Linked DNA regions of Homo sapiens: region 1 is linked to region 2. Evidence: promoter capture Hi-C in 16 types of primary human blood cells and fetal thymus (Javierre and others, 2016). All regions are on one chromosome and are shown on one strand. The core of a region is centred on a gene start or on the middle of the fragment in contact, and the rest is flanking DNA. Distances in the headings are between cores, read along the strand shown.

Evidence for each region. The method cuts DNA at HindIII sites, captures the fragments that hold promoters and counts their contacts. A CHiCAGO score of 5 or more calls a contact.
Region 1: the fragment with the promoter of SIGLEC8 here is called in contact with a fragment that was not itself captured in region 2 in 4 of 17 cell types (monocytes, megakaryocytes, activated CD4 T cells and 1 more); the score reaches 7.4 in monocytes.

Annotation. Positions count from the first base shown.
Region 1 is chr19:51,456,903-51,459,822 of GRCh38, forward strand. It overlaps SIGLEC8 (sialic acid binding Ig like lectin 8), which reads right to left and starts at 1,552. Exons shown (of 7, transcript NM_014442.3): 1 at 1,032-1,552; 2 at 559-837; 3 at 282-329. The coding sequence starts at 1,485. The HindIII fragment of the contact is 20,005 bases long and covers 1-2,920 here.
Region 2 is chr19:51,513,339-51,516,506 of GRCh38, forward strand. No RefSeq gene overlaps it. Among named protein-coding and RNA genes, the nearest start is that of SIGLEC12, 13 kb to the left of the region's middle. The HindIII fragment of the contact is 1,040 bases long and covers 1,132-2,171 here.

The sequences.
Region 1 (2,920 bases), core at 302-2,801, 57 kb before region 2:
AACCAAAAAAATTGGGAGTCTGATCCAGCTGTGTGAATGTCACCCTGTCCTTGCTGTGGGGCCAAGGAAGGGGTGTGTGGAGGAGTCTAAGGGGAGCAGGGACAGGATGGGGACAGGGGCTCAGATGGTCACGCGGGCTGGAGATGTGGGCTCTTGTGCCCTGGGCTCACGCACAGTGGCAGCTCTGTTTCCCAAAGTGATTCCAGGATGAGGAGAGACCCAGCCCCATCCTGAGCTGAAGGCCCTGCTCCCCCAACCCCAGGGAGGGGGCTCTGTCCTACCTGTGGCATCTCCTTGGAAGACAGTCATGGTCAAGTTCCAAGGAGGGTCTGGGACAGAAAGACATGAAGACCCACATTACTATAAGGACTGGGGACATTGGCCCTGTCTTCCCAGGAGCTGCAAATACAGGGAAAATGGAGTCGGCATTCTCCTGACCCCACTCCCAGCCCAGATTCTGGGACCCAGAACCCAGTGTCCAGGCTTGAACCCCATCCCCTGCCCTCAGGAACACCTCCCAACCCATGAGGGACCTGGGCATCTTGGTCCAGCACTCACAGGACACATCGAGGCGGACGGTACTGGTCGTGGTCACACCTGTCCCAGGCAAGGTCACCTGACAGGTGAGGCTGGTGCCGTGGTCCTGGGGCTTTGGGGTAAGGGTGAGCACTGAGGAGCGGGCAGTAGTGGGGCCCGGGGAGGACACGGAGGCCCCAATCCAGGAGATCATGGGGGGTGTCCCCTGCTTACAGGCCCAGGGCACAGAGCAGGTCAGGTTCCTGGAGTGGCCAGACTCTAGGGTCCCTAGGATGAGGATGTCAGGCCTATGGGTCAGGGCTGGTGAAGATGGGGACACAGGATCAGGAGGAGGTATTTCAGGTGCAGCCCTGGAGGAAGCTCAAGCTCTGGTCCAGCTCCTCCCCGGAGACCGACTTATTTCAATCCCAACCCCCTCCCAGGCCCCATCCCAGCCCTGCCTTTCAGCCCCTCATGACCTTCCCCTGTGGCCTGTGCTGGAGCCCGTGCCTTACCTGTCACAAACACAGACAGCTGCTTAGTTTTGTAATTCAACTGTGATTTGTAACTCCATTTCATGCTTCCTCTCTCTAGCCGAAAGAAATATGACCCCTTATCCCTCTTCCTGGCGTCTCTGATGCTCAGGGAGCAGTCGTTGCTCCAAATGTCCCCAAGGAGTTGGAATCGGCCCTGGGTCTCTGCCTGCACTTCTCTGTCTGGGTTGTTTGTGGCCACTGGAGCGTCTTGGTATGGTCTGTCTCCTGCCCGGAACCAGTAGCCATGAACTGGGTCAGAGTCAGTCCAGCCATCCTGGGGGTAGGAGAAGGAGCAGGGCACATGGACACACAGGCCCTCCTGCACCGTCACCAGCTCCTGCACTTGCAGCAAGTAACCATCCCCATATTGTCTGTCTCCCTCCATCCCCTTTGTCCCCCAGAGCAGGGGCAGCAGCAGCAGCAGCAGCAGCATGTCTGGGTTTGAAGGCGCCAGGGCCGCCAGGGAACGTCTGTTCCTCAGGGTTCTTCTCTCAGAAACTGAGGTCTCAAGACTTAGGGGAGGTCCCGCAGGAGGTTGGGGGTGAAGTCAGAAAAGTGACCTCCTCAGAGGAGGAACTTCACACACAGACACTGTCAGGGCCGGGTCAGTCCTGGGAGATCCACTGTCCACCACCCCATTTCCACTCCTGGGAACCCTGAGGCCAGAGAGGGTGAGAAACTCATCCAGATTCCCACCCTATGCAGGGCCCAACCTCTTTCTTGCTTCCCGGACTTGCCCTTCCATTTGGGTAACATTTTCTGCAAGGTGAAATTGGGTCCCATCTGGCCAGACCCCTGAATCACCCCCGGGGCTGTCACTGTTTGTGGAGGTCATACCAGCCAAAGGTGGAACTCAGGGCCATGAGAGACTGGGGTGCAGGTGAGGTGAGCAGGCAGCCTCTCCTCCCTCTCTCAGCAGCAACGAAGTGGGCACCTCCTCTTTACACAACGAGGTCAACAGAGCAGAGCCAGACACTGTCCTCAAGGAGTCACTGTGCAGAGGGGAGACACGGAGGCTCCTGACGTCTGAGCTCCCCAGGACGGGAGCTTCAGTGGGGGGCACAGGCAAGGTGGGGTCGTTCTCCCCTAGGTCAGGGGTTCAGTCTCAGGAGGCCTGAGCAGAGGGACACGGGGCTGTGGAGGTGAGGATTCTGCATGTTGATACACACGAAGGACGGGGGGCGGGGGGAAGCCTGGCTCGCAGGAGGCCTGGGAAACTGAGGCTGTAACTGTTGTACTGTGGGGTTTGGAAGGGAGAAATGTCAGAAGGGAAAGGGTCAATTTGAAAAGGGCACACACTTCTCCCTTTGTTGCAGCTATCTGGGTATCAGAATGGGTTTCTTCACCACCCGTATCTTACTCAGCCACACTTCCCCTGGTTACTGCACAGCAGGCGGGGTCTGTCAGCCCTGGGGCTTTGCTCCTGCAGGCTCTGCTTCCAGGGGTCCAGGTGAACAGGTGTCATGGAACGAGGACACCAGCCCTGGGGTGTGCACCTTCAGCGATGGGCAGGATTTCTTGAGAGAAGAAATGTGCACCTGAATTCAACAGATGATGATGATGATGATGATGATGATGATGATTATTATTATTATTATTATTATTATTATTTGAGACGGAGTCTCTCTCTGTCGCCAGGCTGGAGTGCAGTGGCGCGATCCCGGCTCACTGCAACCTCTGACTCCCTGGTTCAAGCGATTCTCCTGCCTCAGCCTCCCAAGTAGCTAGGATTACAGGCATACGCCACCACATCCAGCTAATTTTTGTATTTTTAGTAGAGCCGGGGTTTCACCATGTCGACCAGGATGGTCTGGATCTCCTGACCTCATGATCCACCCACCTCAGCCTCCCAAAGTGCTGGGATTACA
Region 2 (3,168 bases), core at 402-2,901:
CTAAAGGAATTATTGGATTCTCTGATTTATATCAGCAGACACCTGAGAAATATATGTTAAAGTGGACACTAGGAATCTTAGACCAACAAAGATAAAATATTACACTGGCTTAGCCAAATATATTGATACGGGTGTACTAACAAAAGATTACAGATACAATGTTTTGGCTCAAGAAGCTCTCAGGTGGATGAAGGAATTTGCTTTATGTTTGATTGAAACAATATTATCACTATATTCCAATGAAAATGGACTCAACAATGACCCAAATTTAACGAGGATGATGTCAGAACTTTCTTGGCATAATGGAGAAAAAATAACCCAAAGGTTTAGAGAGTTAAAAATGTTGGAAAATAAAAAATGACAAAAGTTCAACCTGTACCCTCATCTCCTCTGCTCTTACCCCTCAAGTAGTATACTGGTAAAGACAGCACAAGTGTCCATGAAAAGCTCTGTGAAGACTAACCTGGTTCAGCCTATTTTTTTTCACCTTATATATTCTGAAGCCATTCTTTGCCTATTTTTGCCTTACATATTCTGAAGCTATTTTATCATGTGCAGGTAAATTTCTAATGTATCTTCCTAGTATATTGAATATTTAATCCTTAAAAAATTGGCCCTTTTATCTCCATTAACACTTTGTTTGGTAAAAGATATATTTTCTGATATTGACATACTTATGATGGTCAGTTTAATGTGCCAATGTTTCTAGGTTATAGTCCCCAGAACATTCAATGAAACGTTAATCTAGGTGTTGCTGTGAAGGTGCTTTGTACACAGGATTAAGATTTATGATCAGTTTATTGGGGATGACAGAAAGAAATACTGCAACGGATATAATCACACTGCTTTCAATCAGGATGATGGAATTGTCAAAGGCAATGTGTCATTACTTAATCCCTAGAGATAAGTTGAGCACATTAGCTTTAAAGAGGATCAGAGATAAAATGGGAGGTCATCCTACCCCTACCAAAGAAGCTCAATTCTTGATAGTCACCTTTGGATTTTGGAGGAAATGTACAACTATGATTGGATGCTCTAACCCACTTACTACGTAAATCTTAAGACTTCCAGTTTGGAGTTGTTCTCAGTTCAAGGAAAGGCTCTGCAGCAGGTCCAGGCTGTAGTATAAGAAGCTTTACAACTTGAGGTTTATAACTCAAGATTAAATTATACTTGAATTATCTGGAATAATTAAGAATGTCGGTGTGCCCCAGAGTGAAGACCCCTAGGACTTTTGTTGCAAAGCCATGCTCTGTTTTTGAGAACATGATGGATCTCTTGAGAAAGAGCTTCTGACTTATTACCAGGCCTTGGTAGAGACTGATACCCTTACTATGGGATATGAAGCGAATATATAATACAAACTGCCCATCATGAAGTAGGTGCTCTGTGACCCATCAAGCTAAAAGGTTGGGCATGTGAAGCAATAATCCATTATGAAGTGAATTTGGATATGATATAACTGACTTCAAGATGGGCTTCAAGAAGTCCAGAAATCACAACCAAGTGACATGAGCAGGTGACCCAGATTCCTACAACTCCTCCTGGGATATTGCCTTATTTTTTCATGAAATCACATGTGTGACCTCATGGGCAGTTCTTTATGGCCATTGCTTGAGGAGGAAAACATTTCATCTTGGTTTTCAAGTGGTTCTGCTCAATCAACTGGCACAGCAAGGAGTGGACTTTTGCATCATGACAAACTCAACCACAGTGAACCTGAGAGCGGGACTGAAGGAACTCCCCCTAGTGGCAGAATTTCATAAATACATTTGGCTTTTCATTTTGAGACTGAGAGGTCAGAAGGACAGATACAAACTGAACCATGCCTACAGCGTTAGGTAACACATTTTTTCCCAGAAATTTGTCCATTTTCTATAAGTATTCAAAACTTTTCATACAGCTTACTACTTTCTGCTTATTTTGCATTAGATTAAGTAATGTTTTCTCCCTTATATTCCTGCATACTAGTTATTTTTGCCTTCTATATTTCTGGACTAATTGCAACTGAGGTTTGCCCATTTTATTATTTGTATCAAAAACTAGCTGTTCGTGATGTTGTTCCTTTCTACTGAATATGTTTTCTATGCTATGTGCTCTTATCATTTGATATTTCCTTCTCTCCAATTCCTTTTGGTTTTGTTGTTCTTTTTCTAAGTTCTTGAAATTAAAGCTTAGTTTATTAAATTTTAGCTTTTCCCACCCTAGCATATACATTTAAGGTTATATATAGTTCCTCTAATAAATGCTTTAGTTTTACTCTAAAAGTTTTATAGTATTTTCAGTATCCAGTTTTAAATAATTTCTTATTTGTGTTATGATGATAATGATGACAATTTTTTTTAAGATGGAGTCTCACTGTTGCCCAGGCTGGAGTGCAGTGCCTCCCAGATCCAAGCAATTCTCCTGCTTCAGCCTGCTGAGTAGCTGGGATTACAGGCACATGCCACCACACCCAGCTAAGTTTTGTATTTTTTTTTTTTCAGTAGAGACAGGGTTTCGCCATGTTGCCCAGGCTAGTCTTGAAATCCTGACCTCAAGTGATCTGCCCACCTCGGCCTCCCAAAGTGTTGGGATTACAGGCATGAGCCGCCACGCCTGGCTGTATGTTTTGATTATTTAATCTATGACTTATTTTAAGGGATTTTCTAAGTTTCCACTAATTATGTACAGTTACATAGACATTGGTATATAATTACATTTTATTACTTATTTTGAGCTTAATAACATTGAAATCAATTAACATATTCTGTATGGTTTCACTTCTCTGACATATGTTGAAATATACTTTTGGCCCAGTATATGGTAAAAAAAAAATTTTTAATACTCCATGTGTGCTCAAATAGAATATGTTTTCTGCAGTTGTTTGGAGCAGTTTCTACCTATGGCCATAGACCAAGTTTGTTAATCATGTTATTTATGTATACTATGTTGCATATCCTTAACAATTCTCTTGTTTGTGTGTACCATCAGTTATTGTAAAATATGTGTTAAAAATTGCCCTCCATAAATGTGGATTAGGCTATTTTGTTTTCACTTTGCCTATTCTTGCCTTATGTATTCTGAAGCTATTTTATCATGTGCAGGTACATTTCAAATGTATCTTCCTAGTAGATTGAATCTTTAATCCCTACGAAGTGGTCCCTTTTACCTCCATTAATACTTCTT